Regions from separate parts of the Homo sapiens genome. Here regions 2, 3, 4, 5, 6 and 7 are each linked to region 1. The links are contacts of gene promoters, found by promoter capture Hi-C in blood cells and fetal thymus (Javierre and others, 2016). All regions are on one chromosome and are shown on one strand. The core of a region is centred on a gene start or on the middle of the fragment in contact, and the rest is flanking DNA. Distances in the headings are between cores, read along the strand shown. Region 1 holds the start of OTUD4 (OTU deubiquitinase 4). Region 2 overlaps SLC10A7 (solute carrier family 10 member 7). Region 3 overlaps SMARCA5 (SNF2 related chromatin remodeling ATPase 5). Region 4 holds the start of TTC29 (tetratricopeptide repeat domain 29). Region 5 has its middle 12 kb from the start of SMARCA5. Region 6 overlaps SMARCA5 (SNF2 related chromatin remodeling ATPase 5). Region 7 overlaps LOC105377460 (a long non-coding RNA gene).

The links. The method cuts DNA at HindIII sites, captures the fragments that hold promoters and counts their contacts. A CHiCAGO score of 5 or more calls a contact.
Region 2: a contact is called between a fragment that was not itself captured here and the fragment with the promoter of OTUD4 in region 1, in 2 of 17 cell types (M2 macrophages and M0 macrophages). The highest score is 6.8, in M2 macrophages.
Region 3: a fragment that was not itself captured here is called in contact with the fragment with the promoter of OTUD4 in region 1 in 6 of 17 cell types (total B cells, total CD8 T cells, total CD4 T cells and 3 more); the score reaches 10.4 in total B cells.
Region 4: a contact is called between a fragment that was not itself captured here and the fragment with the promoter of OTUD4 in region 1, in 1 of 17 cell types (fetal thymus). The highest score is 6.8, in fetal thymus.
Region 5: a contact is called between a fragment that was not itself captured here and the fragment with the promoter of OTUD4 in region 1, in 2 of 17 cell types (non-activated CD4 T cells and total CD8 T cells). The highest score is 7.4, in non-activated CD4 T cells.
Region 6: a fragment that was not itself captured here is called in contact with the fragment with the promoter of OTUD4 in region 1 in 10 of 17 cell types (non-activated CD4 T cells, naive CD8 T cells, total CD4 T cells and 7 more); the score reaches 14.7 in non-activated CD4 T cells.
Region 7: a contact is called between a fragment that was not itself captured here and the fragment with the promoter of OTUD4 in region 1, in 3 of 17 cell types (fetal thymus, activated CD4 T cells and total CD4 T cells). The highest score is 7.6, in fetal thymus.

The regions. Positions count from the first base shown.
Region 1 is chr4:145,178,864-145,181,866 of GRCh38, forward strand. It overlaps OTUD4 (OTU deubiquitinase 4), which reads right to left and starts at 1,726. Exons shown (of 21, transcript NM_001366057.1): 1 at 952-1,726. The coding sequence starts at 1,110. RefSeq lists enhancers at 828-1,657, 1,658-2,487 and silencers at 833-1,292, 1,413-1,642, 1,733-2,132. The HindIII fragment of the contact is 3,984 bases long and covers 1-3,003 here.
Region 2 is chr4:146,287,167-146,290,517 of GRCh38, forward strand. All of the region lies in intron 9 of SLC10A7 (solute carrier family 10 member 7), which reads right to left. Among named protein-coding and RNA genes, the nearest start is that of REELD1, 74 kb to the left of the region's middle. The HindIII fragment of the contact is 607 bases long and covers 1,738-2,344 here.
Region 3 is chr4:143,544,903-143,548,220 of GRCh38, forward strand. SMARCA5 (SNF2 related chromatin remodeling ATPase 5) reads left to right here. Exons shown (of 24, transcript NM_003601.4): 18 at 568-681; 19 at 1,023-1,145; 20 at 1,874-2,006; 21 at 2,483-2,601; 22 at 3,026-3,238. Among named protein-coding and RNA genes, the nearest start is that of SMARCA5-AS1, 32 kb to the left of the region's middle. The HindIII fragment of the contact is 399 bases long and covers 1,132-1,530 here.
Region 4 is chr4:146,942,760-146,945,949 of GRCh38, forward strand. It overlaps TTC29 (tetratricopeptide repeat domain 29), which reads right to left and starts at 3,105. Exons shown (of 13, transcript NM_031956.4): 1 at 2,950-3,105; 2 at 2,272-2,318. It overlaps TTC29-AS1 (TTC29 antisense RNA 1), which reads left to right. Exons shown (of 7, transcript NR_188447.1): 2 at 87-232; 3 at 2,672-2,795. RefSeq lists a silencer at 3,098-3,190. The HindIII fragment of the contact is 2,093 bases long and covers 730-2,822 here.
Region 5 is chr4:143,500,310-143,503,435 of GRCh38, forward strand. No RefSeq gene overlaps it. Among named protein-coding and RNA genes, the nearest start is that of SMARCA5, 12 kb to the right of the region's middle. The HindIII fragment of the contact is 1,117 bases long and covers 1,185-2,301 here.
Region 6 is chr4:143,528,640-143,531,834 of GRCh38, forward strand. It overlaps SMARCA5 (SNF2 related chromatin remodeling ATPase 5), which reads left to right. Exons shown (of 24, transcript NM_003601.4): 8 at 1-75; 9 at 1,819-1,887. Among named protein-coding and RNA genes, the nearest start is that of SMARCA5-AS1, 15 kb to the left of the region's middle. The HindIII fragment of the contact is 500 bases long and covers 1,001-1,500 here.
Region 7 is chr4:144,167,274-144,170,428 of GRCh38, forward strand. All of the region lies in intron 9 of LOC105377460 (a long non-coding RNA gene), which reads left to right. Among named protein-coding and RNA genes, the nearest start is that of GYPA, 28 kb to the left of the region's middle. The HindIII fragment of the contact is 901 bases long and covers 867-1,767 here.

The sequences.
Region 1 (3,003 bases), core at 476-2,975:
CACAGGCGGGTAGGGAGGGGTGTGCAATGGGGTGTGGGGAGCAGGTCCTAGGTCAAAGGAAAGCACATGTGAATCGTCTGAAAGACACACCAGAGCAGAAACTTTTATCCAGCTACTTCGGCAGCTATTTTTCAATATAGGATGGGTTTTGGTGACTGCACACCTACAACACACAGTGTTATATAACATGGAATAAGCTCGCTCAAAAAAAAAAATTCAGAAAAATCTTCCTGAGCAACTGTGTTAGAAAATGGTTTTGAAAAGCTCCAGTTACACGTACCCTTTCTACTACCAACATCAAAACAGGCTTTTTTAAAAAAGTCAGTTCTGTTTAGTATACCTACACAGCCCAGCAGAGCATAATAAAGGGTGGAACCTACTCAAGACAAATCCTTCAAAATATTCTATATTTGTAAAAGGCTGGTTTTCTCAAACGGCAGTTTGCCCATTTGATTCAAGTGACATGGGCGAGCTTGCCTACCCTACATTCCAAAGTCCAGCAGCAAACCAAAATATGTTCCACAAGTAAAGTTTGATCCACCACTTCTAGTAAACACTTGGTTTACTGGAGTGGGGTGAGCGTGGTGCTTCTCAAACGAAGGGAAGGAAGGTGAATGCGGAACAAAAGTAAAAAATATCATGTCGCCAGGTCCCCAGCAATAAATCAACTGTACAAGCTCCGAGCAGGCCTCACAAGTTGTCCTCAACTCATTACCTCTTCATCAGGAGAGAGACACCCCGTTAATTTGCGGGCTTTCGAGTTTCAATTTGCACCTTTCAGACGCAAAGCAGCGTCCCACTCCGGCGTTACAATGGGGCGCTGTGACGACAGCCAGGGCACGCGCAGCCCCGGCCGTGGGCGGCCCGGACAGCCCGCAGCTGCCTCCCCACCCAGACCCGCCGGGCCGTCCCCGCCTCCCCTCGAAGCCCTCCCCGCCCCCCCGCAATTACCTGCTCCGCCACGGCCCGGAACAGGCACGACCCGTCCTTGGCGACCAGTTTCCGATACAAGCCCAGTTTCCGCAGATAGGCGTCCATGGGCGTCGCGTCCTCGCGGGGCCCCGCGCCGCCCTGGTCCCCGCCGTCGGGGACGCCGACGGCAGCCTCCATGTTGCTGGTCCTGCTGCAGGCCAGGCGCGGCGAGGGCTAGCCCCACATGGCCAGGCCGCCGGCTGCTCGACGCCCCGGCCTGGGGCAGGCGGCGGCTCGGGCTGGGGCTCGGGCTCCGCGAGCGGCGGCAGGCGGCGGCGGCCCGAGGCAGCGGTCCGCGCTCTCCGGGCGCATAGGGAAGCCCTGCCTAATGCATGGCTGTCCGCACGCGGCCGCCTCCTCGGAGCGAACACGCGCCCACGACAAACGGGGGGAGCGGGATTAAGGAAAACCCCGAGAGTGAGTAGTCACTTCCCGACGGCCTCGCTGCCTGACTCAGGACCCAGGCCGGGGGTCGCCGCCCCCACAAGTTTCCTCCTCCGTACCGGTGTGAAGCGAGAAAACCCCCGCCCCTGGCGCGCACGCTGGGCCGGCTCAGGTGAAGCGGGGCCTGCGCCCCCGCGCACTCCCCACGCCGGGAGCCGAGGAAACCAAAAAGAAAGACGCGGCCTTTCGTTTCCCCACCTCGCTGGAGGGCGCCGGAGGGGCAGGGAGCGGGTGGGGGCGCCCGGGAGAGAACAGCACCTCGCAGCCCAGAATTTGTTTTCGCTTTCGGCCCGACAGCGGAGAGGACGGCGGGAGATGTAGTCTTGGCAGCCGCAGGAAGTCGGCTTGCGGCGGGCGGGGACGCGCTGGCCGGCCTACCCGGGGGAGGTGCCCGGGAGGCGCGCGGACTACAAGTCCCTACAGCGCGGGCGCGCCGCCGCCACCGCCACCGCCCCAAGCCGGCTTCGCGCTGCACTGGCGCCGCGTCCGCGAGCAGGCCGAGGGGCTCCGCCGGCCGATGTGGGGCGACCTGCGCGCGCCACCCGCCAACCCTGCCGCTGCGCCGCGGGAATCGCGCGCGCCGGGCTGGCGTGGAGTTGCCAGGGACACGGCGGCGCAGTGTCGGCCCTTTGTGTATTTCTTTCCAGAGGGCGCACCTGTCTGCTCCCTTCCCCCCGGCCTGCTCTCCTGGTGTTTCCATGGAGGTGGCTTTAACGGCTTAAGCAGAAAATAGAGCTAATTGGCTGAGGCTCCGGGAACTGGCACGGTGCGGGACGACACACTCTGTCCATAAATCAACCGTGGACTGCTGATTGCTATTAGTAGTACAGCTCACGTACTACGGCAAGATGAAGGCTTTGCCAAAGACATTTTTGTTCACCCTGTCACTGTAGCTGAGCACCCCATCACAGAGACATGTCACTGTCGGAAGACGTTAGGGTTTTTTTTTCCCCCTTAAAAAATTCATCTTGTAAATTGCTTGATAACATGCTGACTGGACTGGCCATGGCTTCCACCAGTGCTCGAGGCTTCAGCTCAACTTCCCACCCTCCGACGTTGAATGGCAGGGAATTGACAAAGTTAAATTATGCTTTAGAACCCAGAATTTATCCAGCATGCTTCTGTTGCACCAAAATTTTATTTTGCTAAGATACAACATCTGGTGTCCTTATTTAAATACATGGTTAATCATAGGAACTAATTCAGTCTTTTAGGCTATGGTGGAGGAGAGGGAGAAGAAAAGGGAGCATTACTATAGGTTTAGACATGTAGTCAAATACCTTGGAATGGGGGGCAAGGCAGGCCAGGTGGTGAGAGTCCAACGACAAAAATTTTTTAAAAACTACGTTAGACACTTTTCAGTATTTTCAGTGCAAGCAATCAGTCATGTATTCACTTTCCTTGGAGCGTCTTTGATTTCTTAATGTTTAAATATTGTATCTCAAATTATGCTGCTTTTAGAGAATACAAACGTTATCGTTACCTAAATGAAAAAATGTCCCTGCCTCAAATTTACTTGTTGTAGCGAAGAAACACTTTGAAATCAGGTTTAGAAAAGTATAGTTTCAGCTGGGCGTGGTGGCTCAC
Region 2 (3,351 bases), core at 791-3,290, 1.1 Mb after region 1:
AGAAGGACTGTGTCTGGAGTGGTGAGAACGACTGAGTTTGGACTGGTGAGAAGGACCGTCTTTGGAGTGGTAAGGACTGTGTTTTCAAGAAATCTGGCAAAGGGAAGAAAAAGGTCACAGGATATTTGACTATGATTATAAAGAGAAAGTGAAGACACGGCAGAGAGAAATACCTGATGAACATAGGTCCCAAAGAGGCCTGAGAAGCCAAGAATAAAGAAGTTATCTGGAGCAGGGCATTTCCTAACATATCTGAGCTGGAAGCAAAAGTGAACAAGGGGAGTGAAAAATATGGAGATTTTTCAGGTAGAGAACGGGCAAGCAGAGGCAAGTTATGTCAGAGATTTTACTTTCTTTGTAAAGTGTGAGCCAACTTTGAGTTAATTCCAAGGCCTGGGAATCAAATACATTAGAAAAGTTTGAAATTGGCAGATTGGAGAATATGAATTACAGTCAATTAACAATGAATAAAAAAACTTCCATGCAGGAGTGAGTGCCCTCCAGTGATTGTAGAACATGTAATGTGATCAGCTGTCCTAGGTAGGGGATGTTGTCCAGCAACGTTTGTGGTGTTAGGAGCACTTCAAAAACTTTGTCTTTTGTGGCCCTTGTTTATATCAGCCATGGCTGCATCTGGGTTTATGCATTTGGTTTTCTTCCTAGAGTCTTGCACTACACTTTTCCTTTAGTAAACTGTGTTCGGCTTGATATCTTGTTCTTTTCAAGGTTACAGCACATTTCCAGTGTGTCACAGTCTCTCTGGTCAAGGAGGCTCTGAATTAATCTGGCGCTGGCTGCTGCTCACTAGAGCAGCATTCACAATGTGGCTAAAGAGGATATTTGCAAGATACGCTTACTTGTCCTCTGTTTCAGGTAAGGAGGCTAAAGCTAGGGCCACACTGGGAGATTTCTGGCTCATTGCTCTCAGTAACACTGCTCTACAGTCTTATCGACAAAAAGTCCATGAGTGGGAAGGAGGATTAGAACCTTAAGGCATAAAAAGGGAACATTTAAGGTTAAAAACAATATTCCTCCTCAATAGGGTTGACTTGTACTCTAGCTATGTAGGACTGGAGCGCTGTATCGGGGAAAGCTGATAGAGCAGATGCTCACTTAACCCTCTCTTCAGGAGGGTGGTAAATTACCACAGCATAAGCATTATTGAGCATTTTTCTAAGCACGTTGCAGCCAGTATTACTTCCTTCTCAGAAAAGCCATACAAACAGATAGTGTTATTGCTCTGCTTTTTCCAAAAACGGAACTGGAAACACAAGTAGGTTAAGCAACTCCCCTAAAGTCACACAACTAGTAAGTTGGTTGCCCCAAACCTTGGTCATAAGTTTGCCCTTTTGAGAAAGACAATATTAAAACCAAAAACACTACAAAATGTAATGGGTGAGGGCAGCTATCTTGGTAAATAATCCACCCTTAGCCATACTCTGTCAAGGGGGACTTCATGGTACAAGGTCATGACAAGACCCAGAAAAATCAAGTGTCCTGTACATCATATTTGAGTAGTAATGACTAAAATTATTCTCACTGATTAACATCTCTATTGGGTCTGCTCACATTCTTGAAAGGAATCACATTACTATTTATTTTCTAACTCTACCTTATCTCTTTTTAATATTGATTTTCTTTTTATCCTGTTTTTAATGATTCTTTTGATCACTTTGCCTTCTCTTGAGATATTTATTTCCTTTTCTTCCCAACTGGTCTTTTTATTCTTTCTTACAAAGCTTTCAATCAGTGTTTTCCACATAATGTTTATTTTGCCTTCCTTTGCAGTACCCACAGAGGAAAACATGTCAGGTTTTACTAGTAGAATCACAGAATGTAGAACAGAAAAGGTCCTTTGAGATACTTCTGTCTAAGCCCACTATTTTCAGAGGAGGAAACTTCCAAGTGAGGCCTCTTCTTTGTTAACCTCTGTACCTGTGTTTTGTCTCTGCTCGTTTTCAGAGAAGACCTCTTCCGTCATTAGCTGGGTGGCACTGAACAAGCTACCCAGGGTGCCAAGGCTTAGTTGCCTCCTCTGAAATGGTAAGAAAACTTACCATTAATGATCATCGCCATCTTCCTTGCCTGCTTCCCTTTCCCATTCTCCCATCCTGCTTCTCCCAGGGCTATGGTGAAAGGCAGATTGAGATATCTCACTGGAAATGTACTGATCAGAATTAAAACACATATACAAATATTTGTTTTCTTCCTTTTCCTTCATTAACAGTTTCTTTTGCCACTCTAATGACAATATAGGTTTCTGTTACTCTAGTTATCAGCCTACCAAACTTTTTAACTTTTTATATATTTTTAAAAGATTTCCAATTACTGCTTTCCTTTTCTAAGCTTTTTCAATGTATGTGTGTGTTGCTTATTTTTTTTTAAATTTGCAGTTTCCCAAAGTTGCAGAATGGTTAGGTCATTGGATAGCTGACTCTTGGCTTGATGAATCAACTCATTTCCTAGCAACTAGGACAGAGAAAAGTAAAAAGTAATGTATTACAAAGTAGCAAAGCTAATGCCCCATCTCTGATTATTAGTTTTTTTTTTTTTTTTTTTTTTTTTTTGAGATGGAGTCTTGCTCTGTCACCCAGGCTGGAGTGCAGTGGCGTGATCTCAGCTCACTGCAACCTCCGTCTCCCGGGTTCAAGCGATTCTCCTGCCTCAGCCTCTGGAGTAGCTGGGATTACAGGTGCACGCCACCACGCTGGGCTAATTTTTGTATTTTTAGTAGAGATGGGATTTCGCCATGTTGGCCTGGCTGGTTTTGAACTCCTGACCTCGTGATCCACCCACCTTGGCCTCCCAAAGTGCTGGGATTACAGGCGTGAGCAACCACACCCAGCCAGATTTTTTTAAAAGTACAGAAATTCTTGGGCTGGGCGTGGTGGCTCACGCCTGTAATCCCAGCACTTTGGGAGGCCAAGGTGGGCGGATCACAAGGTCAGGAGATCCAGACCATCCTGGCTAACATGCTGAAACCCCATCTCTACTAAAAATACAAAAAATTAGCCAGGCGTGGTGGCGGGAGCCTGTAGTCCCAGCTACTTGGGAGGCTGAGGCAGGAGAATGGCATGAACCCAGGAGGCGGAGCTTGCAGTGAACCGAGATTGTGCCACTGCACTCCAGCCTGGGCGATAGAGCAAGACTCCATCTCAAAAAAGAAAAAAAAAAAAAAAAAGGTACAGATATTCTCCAGGCAAGCCAGGAATTTGAGAACAGAGAATGAGGCTATGTGAGAGTTAATTTAGGCTTCAGACAAATTCGAAGTAAATCATTAGTAGATGACTATGGCAGGGGACAGGGCGGGGAGGGGGTGCAGAGAGGGAGAAATGTTCAAGCTATATGCTG
Region 3 (3,318 bases), core at 81-2,580, 1.6 Mb before region 1:
TTCATATATTCTTGCAAAAAGATTGATAATTAGATTTTGTGTTTCTTTTTTTTTTTTTTTTTTGAGACAGAGTCTCACTCTGTTACCAGGAGTTCAGTGGTGCGATCTCAGCTCACTGCAACCTCCGCCTCCCGGGTTCAAGCAATTCTCCTGCCTCACCCTTCCGAGTAGCTGGGACTACAGGCACCCACCACCACCCCTGGCTAATTTTTGTAATTTTAGTAGTGATGGGGTTTCACCATGTTGGCCAGGATGGTCTTGATCTCTTGACCTCATGATCCGCCCACCTTGGTCTCCCAAAGTATTGGGATTACAGGCGTGAGCCACTGCCTCTTTCCTACATTTTGCATTTCTTTAGAGTGTACTCTCTTCTGTTTTTAGTTAACATTTTTCAAAAATTAATTTTGAATCTGTGCATTTAAAATTAAGATATAAATTCAGTTTTATTGAAAGATGCATTCAGTTGCTTGCAGAATTGGCTGTTGTGGTTTATGAAGTGAGGACTAAGGATACATTTAAAATGAAATTTCTTTTTTATGGATAACACTTATTTTTGTTTTTCTTTAGGCTCCTCGACCTCCAAAACAACCCAATGTTCAGGATTTCCAGTTCTTTCCTCCACGTTTATTTGAATTACTGGAAAAAGAAATTCTGTTTTACAGAAAAACTATTGGGTACAAGGTAATTGAAATTATCTGCCTTTCTGTTCATTCCTATCCAGAAATTATGGAAGGTATAAACATTAGTTATAAATATTTATCTAATTTGGACCTAGTGTGAAACAATACTGCTTTAGCCTAGTCTAGTTGTATGTATGAAATACATAAACTTGGGTCTGTTTTTCTTTAACAAGAAAAAATAAGACTTCATGACCAATCTGGTTTGTTTTTAACATAATACATGCAATGTATCAGTATATTTTCTTTCCTGGTTGAATTGAAACTTGTGAAATGTCAGTTAGTTGGTTCATCACATGCTCTTTAAAATTTACTGATTTGATGGCATAGAAAAATATCTTTTAGGTACCTCGAAATCCTGAGCTGCCTAATGCAGCACAGGCACAAAAAGAAGAACAGCTTAAAATTGATGAAGCTGAATCCCTTAATGATGAAGAGTTAGAGGAAAAAGAGAAGCTTCTAACACAGGTATAGCCTTTAATCAGTACAAACTTTAGTAACAGTTTGTTGTAAAGGACTGTGTTAGGTTATGTTGGGGCATAAAAATAAATACAAGTTTCTGCTTTTAAAGATGGAATAATTGGAGACAATAAAGTATGGGCATGTGGATAAATGCTCCATCTGATTGTCACTAGTTGAGGTAGTTGAGAAGACTACAGATTTTATTACTCTGGCTCGGTAGAGTGGGTATCTTTTTTATCACCTTACTTTGAATGTTCCCGTCTTTCCTATGAATTTTCCACATTGCTACCCAGTCACCATTTTCAACTATAAATCTTGGCTTGGTTATTTTTTAAACATCCTTTGGTGTTCATCAAGGTCTTTCAGAATCTGGCCTTTGACTTACCTTTAAAGCTTCATTTTCCTTCCATTTTTCTACTTGCTCATATTTTTGCCCTTTATGTTATTCACTCTTTCTGGCCAACTGCTAGTAATCCTTCAAAGCTCAGTGAAACTGTCACCTTTTCATACAGTATTCCTTACTCTCAGCCACTCATATTTAATTGCTTGGGTATTTGAGCAATATATAATGTGTTGTCAAAAGTGTATATTTATGTACACGAAAAGTTACCACTCTAAAAGAACTTAATAAACTAGTGAAAATTTGTTTTTGTAATATTTAGAAGGTTTGCTAATAGCATGTTTTCCAAGTTTAATGTGCTGTGATTAAATATTTTGTTTCTGTTCCTGTGAAGGGATTTACCAATTGGAATAAGAGAGATTTTAACCAGTTTATCAAAGCTAATGAGAAGTGGGGTCGTGATGATATTGAAAATATAGCAAGAGAAGTAGAAGGCAAAACTCCAGAAGAAGTCATTGAATATTCAGGTAATTCTTTTAAGCAGGCTGTTGGAGTTTAGTAAGAGCTGTTGGAAGGTTCTTGTTTTCTTATTCTGAATTATGTTGTGATTAGCTAATTTTGTCACAGTGTAGTTAGTACCTTCTTCATTATTTTTTACAAATTAGAAAATGTTCTGTTTCCAGAAATGGCGTAATGGTTTCCTTTTTAAAAATTTTTTAACCCTAGCTAACTCTAGCGACAGCAAAGAAAATCAGAATAAGTCACTGGATAATTGCCCTTGCATTTTTATCTTAATTTCTCTGCATAACTTCAAGTATTATGTGTTGTGTTTCCTGAAGTCAGTTGTATTATTAGGTTAACATGTGAGGGTATGCTGTGGTGAGTCTGCTTAGAATAGCAGAAATTTAAGAATTAGAAGATAAATAATCCAGTTGATCCCATTTTTTTTACATTAAAGAAATAAAAATATAAATGATTTGTTTACTTTGTCCAACTTTTACAGCTGTGTTTTGGGAAAGGTGCAACGAGCTCCAGGACATAGAGAAGATTATGGCTCAGATTGAAAGGGGAGAGGCGAGAATTCAAAGAAGAATAAGCATCAAGAAAGCACTTGACACAAAGGTAATTTGCTTGTTAATAAGTTAGGTAGTTAATAAAATAACTCCTAGCTGTGAGTATGAGAGAGTGACTTTTTATAAAGGAAAAGAAGTAAGGGTTTACAATTTAAAATTTCTTCAGAGTAGCATTCAAACATGGTATTGTCAGCAGAATTTACCTATACACTAGACTGATAGATCTGAGTCAAAGACACTAAGATTAGCTTTTTACTAAGTAGAATCAGGAAGTCTTAGTCTGTATTTCTCTTTATAATAATAAAGACTATAAAGGTCTTTCGGGACAAAGATTATATAAAGCAATTGAAGTGCTCTAGATAGAAAATTCTGATTTGAAATGCAACATTTTAGCTAATTATACTAAAGCTGAGTTTGAAATACAGATTATATAGGATTTGTATTTTATATAATATAAAATCTGACTTTCATAGATTGGACGGTACAAAGCACCTTTTCATCAGCTGAGAATATCATATGGTACTAACAAAGGAAAAAACTATACTGAAGAAGAAGATCGTTTTCTGATTTGTATGCTTCACAAACTTGGATTTGACAAAGAAAATGTTTATGATGAATTGCGACAGTGTATTCGCAACTCTCCTCAGTTCAGATTTGACTGGTTTCTTAAGTCCAGAACTGCAATGGTGAGTGCTCAGGGCTTTTTTGTGTAATGTAGCAGAGTTCAGAGTAAGTGTCATCTTTGGTATTCTTTAAGGTGACTTTA
Region 4 (3,190 bases), core at 526-3,025, 1.8 Mb after region 1:
TAGACTCTTTTCTAAAAGCCCCACTTTACTTGCCAAAGCATTATGCAGTGGGCACTGGGGCCAGGGTAATCTCTTCATAATTGCAGGGGTCTTTGAAGAGTTCACCCAGGAGCTTCAAAATGAGGAACAGTGCTTGCAATTTCCTTGAATACTAAGAACATCCAGCTATTTGTAGACAGATAAAAGAGAGCAGCCCCCAGAGGTGCTGATCCAGCCAAGATAGCTCATCCAGGTGCGTATAACTCCCCACCAAAGTTGGCATACCAGCATGTTATATAAAATTTATCCTTTTTGATGTTTACTTGAGTTCGATGATTTTTGTTAGAAAATGTAAGCATGGAATAGAAACCAAATGCAAATGACATACATGGAGAGGGATATGTCTTCTTTGTCATACAGATCAACTGTGCTTTTTTTTTTTTTTTTTTTTTTTTTTTTCAAAATTCTGAGTCAACGTTTCCTACCATTAAAGTTTCAGCTGCCAGTTCCTTCATTTTGCTCTCCTCTGATCTGAGAACATTAGCAGCAGGAGCACCTTTACTCTTAAATTTAGTTTAATGTAAGTACTGCAAGCCCTGCTGGCAAGCCTCAAGGCACAAACTCTGAATGGGGGGTGGTCAGAGCTGAATGATAAAGTGGAAAAAAAGTTATCAGAGCTGAATGATAAAGTGGAAAAAAAAAAGCATGTTGGAAAAAATATCCCTCAATCAATCTATGTTGGACAGTTTAAGCTTAGAGTCAGGATGGAAGTTGAACAGGCTTTCTCTTTGTTTCTGAACCCCACATCCTACCTTACCTATGCCCATCGGGAAAGTGAATTTTGTTTCTCAGAATCAATACGTGGCCACATAAGGTATTTTGTTTTACACAACAGATAATGTGTGATCTGAATTTTATGACAGAGTTAATATTTTGAATGCAGCAAATATTTAAAGGGGTCCTGTAACAAATTAGTTTCTTATCTAAGTAATTGCCATCTTTTATGCCTTACAAGTTCAAGCAGGGTTTGCAGTACTTCCATTAAATTAAATACCTGTAAAGAAAGCCTTTTGGTCTTTGTTAATATGAGTTGCATCATTTTCCTGGTGTTGGTCAGACAGCATTCTCAGTTCCCATGTGAGCTCCAATTTAGACTCAACAATGAAGAATGGGACTAGTGCTATGAGGTGACTGACCCAGGCCTGTAGCATAAATGGAGCATATCACCACTAGTTATGGCACCTCCTTAGGGTTCTCCCAGATCAACATCTCAGGGGAAAACACACAAGATGGTGTGGCTGCAGGAAGGGAAATTGCTCAGGTTCAGGTGAGTAAGAAAGAAGAAGAATGAAAGATACCTCTTTGGCTGCTACCAAATGAGCTTAGCCCCAGGAGCTCAGGCTGAATCAGCCTGTTAGGAGGACCCACAGGAACCTCCGCCAGTGCTAGCAAGTGGGCAGTGCTACAGTGTGGCATCATCGGGTGCTGAGACAAAGATCAAAAGGCCGCCTGAAGCCATTCCACTGTTGGTATTCAGAAGAAATTTGGTGTACTCTTTGATCTGCTGGTTGGCTCTTGTATCACAGCTACAATCTCTAAGTTTGGCCCCCACATGCAAAGACAAATGAAAATGGAGAAATACAGGATGAAAGGTTTGAGAGTGCTAGGTCAGGCTGAATGTGTCCCATGGTGTGAGCTTAAATTTTTGGCCCCCAAGTAAAATTCTTCAAAGAGTAACTCTCCTGCCCTCTATCCCCAGAGATGCCTTTATCAGGAAACACAAAGGAGGGAGACCTACTACTATGTAAATGGAGGCTACTTGGAGAATGACTATGTCTGAGGCTGACCAGTGTCTGCAGGGTTCAGTCACTTTGGAGTAAAAACTGAGATTAGAGAAATAAAGCCAGTAAACCACAGTAAGCAAGTTTATTATACATCATCACGAGTTCAAAACAAGTAGGATTTTACTAAAAATCATTCATAAGAATTAAAACTTTTCATATTATCCAAGCTCTTTTACTATGAAAGTTTAATGAAAACTACAGAAGAAATATCACTAATTATGCTCCCTAAGTAAAAAAAAAAACATAATTAAGTTTATAAAGAGTCAGTAATAATGTTTATTCTCGGTATCATAATTTTTGGACACTTCTGGCACTCTCTCATGGGTAGATAGGTTGTTTAGTAAAATAAATAGAAAACACACATTTCCTACCAGCTGACATTGATGGCTAAATCACAAAATCAAGCAGGAAATGAGTTTGAAGGCAAGCCATATTTCACGTGACTTACATTTGCAGATTACTGCTGATGGTCTCTCCAGGCTTATAGACTTCAGCCTGAAAATCAGGAAGCAAAGAATAATAGCAAAGAAGAAAAATTTAAAATCATTCAGTAGTGTAACTCCTCTCCCCGCTCCAAGTCATGGAATAAGATTCACTCTTACAACAAATACTTCCTACCATCTAAGTTTAGATGAACTTTTAAAGAAAATCCCCAAGTATAGATCCTATGAGAGAAACTAATCACTAAATCAGTGAAATGCCAAAACATCTGAAATATGTATATGTATTGATGTATTTCAATACAAATGTGACATTAGGGATAACCATTTGTTCTCTCAAATTTACGAGATACAGTTATCTTTGCCAAAAACGGAGAGCATCTCAGTTCCCTTTCTGTTCCCACCTAGTTCTCAACAGGACTAAAGGACTTATCCTATGCCTAGTTTTTCACTCCCCTCAGAGGGTCAGGTGAACTGGGGAGCAAGAGGAACTGGCGCCTTTCCCTACTTCTCTTTCAATTCGTTTATTGAGGTAAGTGGCGAGGGCCTGGACTGAGGAAGCTTGAGAAAGACTGATGGAGGAAGGGCTGGCTGTAGGGGTCAGGGAAGGGGCTGCCTGAAGAACAGCCTGCCTCTCCAAGGAGCTGAGGAAGTCCGGTCCCAACCTCGCCCCTGCCGTCACGAACCTCGGTGCACTGGCCCAGGGAAACAACTCCAGTTTTCCGTTCCGCCGAAGTCAGTCCCCCACCGGCGGCAGGTGCTGGGCGTTGGCGCTGCCCCCTCCTCTCTCAGTGATTCCGAAGCCTGGCTCCGCCGGAGCGGAGACAGGGGACGCCGAGAGCGTCTCCACGGAAACAGAGAGGCGAGGCATGACGGCCGGGGGTGGAGTTAGGCTAAACCGGGCCTCGGGATTGGGGCAGCTCCCAG
Region 5 (3,126 bases), core at 493-2,992, 1.7 Mb before region 1:
AAAATTCCACCTACCCTCTACTCAATCTTCCCCATCTCTAAGTCCACAGAAGCCACAGACACAGGACAAGCTCACAAGCTAATATAAGCCATTATACTATTTTTTTTCCTCCAAGACTTAAAAAATTGGTGATTTCCAGCCATGTGCTTAGCTTCTCCTACTTAGCTCAGTAAAGTAATCTTTACTTAAAATTATATATGAAATAGAAAATTATTTAATATTTTCATATAGTGTTAATACAATTTGATTTCAGTATATACAAAAACAGCGGGTCACTTTTGGAATTGATGAACCTTTTAATTATGATACATTACATATATTTTAAACAAACATTTGCCATTATGACAGGTGACATAGACACATTTATCTATAAAGCATTAATTTTAAAAAGAAAATTGTTGGATGCTTGAGAAGTAGGAATTTTATGTGTCAATGATGTCCTTTTGTTTTCCATTAAAGGGAACCTGCTGTATGTATAAAAACATTTTTGAGTCTCTGTTTCTAAATAGTGTTTTCTCAGTTAGTTTTGAAAATCACAGTCTCAAAGGCTAGCATTATTCAAAGGATAAAAATTAAACTTGGTATTATTGAATGTAGTTTAGTGATATGCAGTAGGGGCTCAAAATAGCAGTGGCTTACACAGATAGAAGTTCTTTCTTATCTGAGTGAAGCATGAAGAATTGCACTCATCCTTCACTCACATGGTGATATGGTTTGGCTCTGTGTCCCCACCCAAATCTCATATTGACTTGTAATCCCCATAATCCACATGTGTCAAGGGAGGAACCCGGTAGGAGGTGACTGGATCTTGGGGTTAGCTTTCCCATGCTGTTCTCATGATAGTGAGTGAGTTCTCACAAGATCTGATAGTTTTATAAGGGGCTCTTCCCTCTTCACTACTCACACTTCTCTCTCCTGCCACCATGTGAAGAAGGTCCTTGCTTCCTCTTCACCTTCCACTATGATTGTAAGTTTCCTGTGGCCTCCCCAGCCATGTGGAACTGTGAGTCAATTAAACTGCTTTCCTTTATAAATTACCCAGTCTCAGATATTTCTTTATAGCAGTGTGAGAACAGACTAATATACATGGCCACCCCTGGCAGCACGAGGATGAGAAATGAAGACTTTATTCAGGATGGCCAGATGCGCAGTTAACTGAGAGAGTACTGGAGAATGGTTGTTGAAGCTTTCAGTTGGTCATAATCACACATTGTAAAACACTTTCTCAGGTAAAATTTAATATAGGAACTAGCAGAGGCACTAACCTTTTGAGTTTTCATGGAACTAGGCTTCTTCACTGTTGTATTTACATACACTACATATACATACACACATATATAGTATGTATACATATGTGTGTATATACATTGTATATATATTGTACATATATACATATGTACAAATGGTACAGCATATACACATATATGTGTATATATAATTTATATATTTAATTGTTTAATACTTTTTATTAAACATTTTTATTAAATGTTTTATTAAAAATTAAACATTAATATGTTAAATTTTATTGGCATTTAAGATAACCTAAATAGCATTTTATTGATATTACTATTAAATAGACGCAAACTATTGTCAGCAGAATTATTAAGATAAGTTGGGTGATTTTCCCCTTGAGGGACTGAATATACAAACTGACTCTATACGACAACAGAATTGTCACACACAATGTCTGTAGCAACTAGTTGGAGAAACTATCTTAGTCCCTTTGGGCTGCTATAACAAAATACCATCAACTGTGTAGACTGAAAAAAAGAAAACTAGAAATTTATTTATCATAGTGTTGATGACTGGGAAAACCAAGATCCAGGTGCTGGCAGATTTAGTGCCTGGTGACGGCCTGCTTCCTGGTTCACAAATGGAGCCTTCTCACTGTGTCCTCACATGGTAGAAAAGACAAACGAGCTCCCTTGGGCCTATTTTATCAGAAAACTAATCCCATTCTGTGGAGGTGTTATGACCTAATCACCTCCCAAATGGCCCTACCTCCTAAAACCATTAACTTGAGAGTTAGAATTTCAATATATGAATTTGGAGGAGACACAGACATTCAAACCACAGCAGGAGCTATACCACAACCTCTGCAGCAACAGCTCAGTATGGTCACAACTCGGTCAATGACTGCTTACTTCCCTATTTTTTGCATCAGGACAACTTTCAATTCAGGATCAACCAGAGAAAGCCAAATATACTTCCCAAACCAGTCATCCTAGATGTCTTATTTTTATTTAGCCTGCCTCCAGTTCCTCTATGTGAATGAGCTCTACTCAGAGCACAATACTATAAAGCTTTTCCAGTTCCCACTCTACCACTGTCCTACTTTGCCAAGAGCAAGTGACGATAGCTAAGTCCCTCAATATAACAAGTTCTGAATAAATAGCACCTGTTTGTTCTTGTTTGGGTGACCTTCATTTATTTCCACGATCTCAATAAGCTACCATCCTTGAGCTACAGGTTTCATCTTTTACTTTTATGCAATTTAGTCTAATTAATCTGCCATATCACACATTGACTGTATAATACTATGTAAGCCACTCTATCTTCTATGTCTGTTTCTCTGCAAAATGGAGACAAATATTACCCCCTTCACAAGGGCTAATGTGAGGGCCAATGAGTCAAAACATAAAAAACTTGAAACACTACATGCAACTAATAAACTTTAGTTATGATTATCATTATCATCACTATCATCATCAAAATACAAATCTTCTTTCATCTAAATTGTATCTGAGTACCTGGGATCTCTGTGAGTCCAAAATCAGGGTTCAATGATAAATATATGTTTTATTTTTCACCCTGAAGATTGTATAGTGTGTGTGTGTGTGTGTGTGTGTGTAAAATTAGCTGAAATTTGTTAAATTTAAAAGATGATGAATTTGTTGAAAGTATACTTCTTTGTCTTTCTATAATATGTGTATATATTCTTGTGGTGACCATGAAGCTATGACACTCAGATCTACTATGGCAGCCCCAGCTGTAGCCCCTCTGGATCCACCTCCCCATCCCTCCATCCTCTCATCCCTACTCCCCACTTACTCCATATTTGTGCTTAGGGCCAACTTTTCTCAGGCTACTCCCAGCAGGCAGTGGTACTAGTGCAGGAACACTCTC
Region 6 (3,195 bases), core at 1-2,500, 1.7 Mb before region 1:
CCTCTTCAGAACAACTTGCATGAGCTGTGGTCACTTCTTAACTTTCTGTTGCCAGATGTGTTTAATTCAGCAGATGTAAGTATTTCCTGGTGCTTTCTGGTTAATAATAATATTTTGCTTAATGCTATATATTTTTGTAATAAAAGTGGCCTGCCTTTTAGCATGGCTTGAGGTTATTATTAATTTTTTATGCTTTTATTTACATAGTTAGCCTGGTGTTATCTCCTAGGTTGTCTCTGTATAATGGGAATTTACTTTTGTGCCTTTGGTTTCAATCTTATTTCATTATTATTATTATTATTTTATTTTTTTTGAGACGTAGTCTCACTCTGTCACCTATGCTGAAGTGCAGTGGTGTGATCTTGGCTCACTGCAGCCTCCACCTCCGGAATTCAGGTGATTCTTGTGCCTCAGCCTTCCGAATAGCTGAGATCACAGGTGTGTGCCACCATGCCCGGCTAGTTTCTGTGTTTTTTGTAGAGATGAGGTTTTGCCATGTTGTCCAGGCTGGTCTCAAGCTCCTGGCCTCAAGCGATCTGCCTGCCTCAGCCTCCCAAAGTGCTGGGATTACAGGCACGAGCCACCACACCAGGCCTCAGTCTTCTTTAAATCATTGTTTTCTCTATCTGAAATGGCATAAATTGTCACTCCTATTTGGTAAGTCAGGTTGGCCTGACTTTGTTTCAGTGGCTCTAGGTTGACTGGTTATGTTTTTAAGGTGCTGCTCAAGGTATTCCTGAAGTGATTTGTATACCTCACATTGCTTATGTTTTAAGTCCCAAGGATGACTGTCAAATTTAGTGAAATCTGTCTGGCTTTTCTTATATTATAGTCTAACAAACAAATAGAACCTAATCTTTATGGATTATTTATAGTCATAGAAAGGATAGTAATGGTTAATTAGCTATTTGAACTGTTAATAGTAATATAATAACTATGTCAAGAGTTTGTGCTATTAGAAATTGCAGTTTTTTTTGCCTGGACCAGTGTTTATTTTTGAAGCTTTGTTTGCATAGCTGGCGTCTTATGTGTATTGGAGGGATTTGAAGAGCTCCATGTTAGTATATTTTTGTACAATTAAGTTATAAAAAGGTATTAATTAATTTTGTTTTTTTTCTGTTGAAGATTGTTTTGAAAGAATAGATTGTGTTGTAAAAAGATATTTAATCAGACTCCAAAAGCAATTTTAGCTTCGATTTTATGTATTTTGATGTTTTTGAGATAATTCCTGTTTCTCACTACATTGACACTTTCATTTACTTTAAAGCAGTGAATTCTAAGATTATGTTTACTCAAAAACAAAGCACATATATAATACATATGTTCAAGAGATGAGGTTAGGGAAACTGCCCTTGTTGAAATCGTAACCAAATATTAATGAAATGCTGGTAATTTCAATTTCATTTAGTAAGTTTGATTAAAATTGACATTGTTCGTAAACTTGTATTTGAGTAGTGCGAATGGTCTCAGAGAACAAACTATAAAATGTTTTAATTTTCAAGCTTTTATGAAACTTGAAAGATACTTTACAAGAATATTAATTTTCTAATCCTATAGAACTTGCTCTCCAACTTTTTACTGTGAAACTTGTTATTTTGATGTTTTTGAGAAGAATGTTTAGAAGGTAGTGTGATTTCTGAACTACTTGTTTTAAAATTAGTAACAATGACACATGAAAACCAGGATTGGACTAAGTGATTTTTTTTTGTGGGTTACAATTCAAATTACTAATTCTAGAAATCATTTCTATATCTGGTATTATAGGGTATTTGTTAATATTATCTCTGATCTGAGTATATTTTTTGTTTGTTTATCTAGGACTTTGATTCCTGGTTTGATACAAACAACTGCCTTGGGGATCAAAAACTAGTTGAGAGGCTTCATATGGTAAGTATTTTGGAGTAGTGTTAAAGCATATTTATGATGGGAAAAAGGATAAAGGTTTAAATTAGTAGATTATTTTCCTGTTAATAAAAAACACAATGGCTTAAGAATCAGATCTGCTTGAATTCTGACACTTAACTCTTACATCTTACAATCAGTGTAGGGGGTGATGTGTGGTTGTTTCAGTGTTAGAACCTAGAATGGAATCCTGACTTAAGGGAGAAAGTATTCTCTTACAGTTATACAAAATACAGTGGGGGGAAGAAGAATTGCATAATAATTAATATAGACAAGTTTTTGTTGTTGTTTTTGAGACAGTCTCACTTTGTCGTCCAGGCTGGAGTGCAGTGGCATGATCTTGGCTCACTGAAACCTCTGCCTCCCAGGCTCAAGCAGTCTCTCCCCATTCAGCGTCTAGAGTAGCTGGGGCTACAGGCTCTGGCCACCATGCCCAGCTAATTTTTGTATTTTTTGTAGAGATAGTGTTTCACCATGTTGCCCAGGCTAATCTCGAACTTCTGAACTCAAGTTATCAACCTGCCTGCCTTGGCCTCCCAGAGTGTTGGGATTACAGGCATGAGCCACCACGCCCGGCCTTAATAGACAAGTTTTTAAAGCTTAGTTCAATTTACATTCCATGGAAGAATCTAACAGGTTCACTTTTGAAAGGGCTAAAGATCCATCTGTTTTTTCTTAAATCTAGCTACATTGTGTATAAACAACTGCTAATATTGCATTATGAGCACAGTTGGTATGTTTTTGCTTGCTGTATAGCTTTGTTTCTACATACAGCTTCCTGTGACGGTTCACAAGTAAAAGTTGGTAGGTAGAGAAACTTCTCTAACAGACACCAGATTAAAATACCCTGCTAAGCAGGTTAAAGCAGGAGCTTGTAAGAATGTTATATAAAGCCCTTAATGACCTAACTCAGGAATTCTCAGCCTCTTTTGACATTTTGGTCTGGGTATATCTGAGAGGGGTAAGGAGAGAGGGGAGAACGTGATTGTCCTGTGTATTGTAGCATGTTTAATAGCATCCCTGATACTTTTACTCACTAGATGGCAGTAGTAACATTCCTCCAGTTGTGACAACCAAAAATTTCTCTAGACATTGCAGATGTCCCCTGGGGAACAAAATTGTGCCCCTCCATGACCTAACCTTTTTAACATTCTTTGGCATCTGTTTTACTTCTTCATATATTGAGCTTTAATTTGATAGATTGCTGACCCCACTGTCAGTTTTCTGTAAACATTGTGGTAATTCTAATCTATTTTTGCTTATCATTTTTGCTACACCTAGAATCCTTTTTCC
Region 7 (3,155 bases), core at 67-2,566, 1.0 Mb before region 1:
GTATATTCTTGTCATTTTCTTTGGTATTTTCTTAGTTTCTTAAATTTTGGGTTCATATTATTTGCAGTTTTGGAAAAATCTTGATTATGATTTCAAATATTGTCTCTCTTTTCCTTCTGGGACTTCAATTTTTCATACATTAGACCTTTTAATTATTGTTGCTCACATTTTTTACATTCTTTTTTTCCTTACTGTGCTTCAGCTTGGCTACTATGTAATGACTTTTAACAATCTTATCTGCTGTGTCTAGGCTGCTGTCAAACCTATATCATTAGTTCTTTGATGCTGATATTAAATTTTTCAGTTCAGAATACACATTTGATTTTTATAAGTTTCAATTATATTTGAAATTCTACTAATATTTAAATGTAAGACCTCAAACTATAAGAATCCTAGAAGAAAATTTAGGAAACATCATTCTGGACATTAGCTTTGGAAAATAGTTTATGACTAAGTCCTGAAAAACAATTGCAAGAAAAAAATTGACCAGTGGGAACTAATTAAACCAAAGAGCTTCTGTATGGCAAAATAAATTATCAATGGAGTAAAGAGACATCCTACAGAATGAGAGAATATATTTCCAACTATGTATCTGACAAAGGTATACTATCCAGATTTGTAAGAAACTTAAACAATTGGACAAGCAAAAAACAAATAACTCCCTTAAAAATGGGTGAAAGACAGAAGCTTGTCAAAAGAAGATGTACAAGCAACCAACAAACACGTACAAAAATATTCCTTATCAGGAATCATCAGAGAAATGCAAATCAAAACCATAATGAGATATCATCTCACACCAGTCGGAATAGCTATTATTAAAAAGTCAAAAGACAACAGATGCTGGCGAGACTGCAGAGAAAAGGGAAAGCTTATACATTGTTGGTGGGAATGTAAATTATTATACTTGTGCATCAACCTAACAGTTCAGGTCCTGTGGAAAGAAGTTTGGATATTTCTCAAAGAACTTAGAACTACCATTCAATCCAGCAATCCCATTACTAGGTATATACCCAAAGGAAAATAAATCATTCTACTAAAAAGATACATGCACTTTTATGTTCATTACAGCACTATTAGCAATAACTAAGACATGGACTCCACCTAAGTGCCCATCAATTATAGATTAAATAAATAAGATGTGATACATATACACCATGGAATACTACACAGCCATTTAAAAATAACAAAATCATGTCTTTTGCAGCAACATGGATTCAACCAGAGGCTGTTATCTTAAGTGAACTAATGCAGGGACAGAAAACCAAATACTACATGTTCTCACTTATAAGCAGGAGCTAAACGTTGTATATTCATGGATATAAAGATGGCAAGAACAGAAACTGGAGTCTACTAGAAGGGGGAGAAGGGAAGAGGGCAAGTGCTTAAAAACAGACTATTGAGTATTATGTTCAATACCTGGATAATGGGATGAATCATACCCCAAATCTCAGCATCATGCAATATACCCATGTAACAAACCTGCACCTGTCCTCTCTAAATCTAAAAGTTGAAATTATTTAAAAAACAAAAAAAGAAATTCTACTTATTTCATTTATTCTATGTAACTCACTCTGCTTTCTTGAATATGCTAATCATAATTATTTTAATGTATTTGTCTCTTGGTTCCAATATATAGATATCTGTAGTTCAGTTTTTATTTATGTTTTTATTATCATAAAATATATATAACAAAATTTTATCATTTAACATTTTAAGTGTATAGTTCAATAACATTAAGTGCATTCACACTCTAGGTGTACAACCATAAGCTTTCATTTTTAAAAATCTTGATTATTTGCCACATTTTCTGCCACTTTGCATGCCTAAACATTTTTTCCCATATGCAGAATCTTGACCTCAGCTTTTTAGTTTCCTAAGTGTGCAGCTTCAGTGGAAATGTCTTGAGAAAGATATTAATATGCTTTATTGCAGGTCCCTTCTCTCTGGTAGGATTTTGCTGTTTTTCCCAATTTAGCTTTTCAGCCTACTGCGCCATTCTGAAACTCAGCAAGTGTCTTTTGGGGAAAACAGGCTTTGCGGTTGGTGCTCTAGTCTTAACCTGTTATGCCAGCCCTGACTAACCGCTAAAAGCTCTAAAAGTGTTAATACTTCCTCCCCACTTCCATGGCATTTTCCTGCTTATAATCTAGTTAGCTGCCATAGAAGAAATCAGCAAATATCCAGATTCCCCCAGGGAAATGAAAGCTCCCCCATGTGACTGTGGAACTCCCTATTATCTCTCATGCCTGAATGTGATTATGATGCCAGTAACAGAATTTTCTGATGGTATTCTCACCCTTCTTCCAAATATGCCCCAGTTAGAGGAGCAGTTGTATTGCTTGTTTCAAATAATCAATGAGCAAATAGCCAAGGGTAATTTTTAGTGATAGACTTCCAATTTCCTTAAAATGAGTTCCAAGAGACTGGTAATATTTCATAAAATTTTAAGACTACAGATCCCAATATCCCTGTTCTTTCCCCTGTTTTGACTGCAGTCTTGGGTCAGAGGACAGAAACTCGGTGGCTTGCTGGAGCAACAAACATAAGTGAGTCTCTACATGCCCTGAGAGCCAGCTGACCTCAAAGATAATACATTTATTTTTAGATTATAATACCATGGGATGCCTATCACATTGTTACTCCCTTGCTTATGTTACTCTTGCTTCTGACATTATAAGTTATTGAATACTAACTACATATCAGGCATTGTACTAGTTACTTCTTGTGGGCAATATATTATTCCTCATCATGATTTTATGAGATATGTATTATTTTCTAAACATGTGGTAGAGCCAGGATTTGAACCCAGGCAGTCTGTCATTATGGCCCAGGTTTATTCTCTATAAACTATACGTCCTCCTGCTATATTAAACATGCAACAAAAGTCAATTAGCATTGTCTGGAGGAGCAGGGATAGGTGAAATGCAAGAATTTGGGCATTATTCATAAGCTGCGTGCAGGAGCAGATGAAGAGGCTTTTGAATAGAGACCTCTCTTTCAAAAGAGACAGTTACATACTGTTCTGAGGAGTGAAATTCAGTATGACTGGGGAGTATAAAGTGAGAGGTGAGAGTCATAGTAAGAGATATGGCTGTAAGGTATGGGCAGTGAGATCATGATGTTAGGGTTTGGGGCTTCATCCCATAGACAATTGG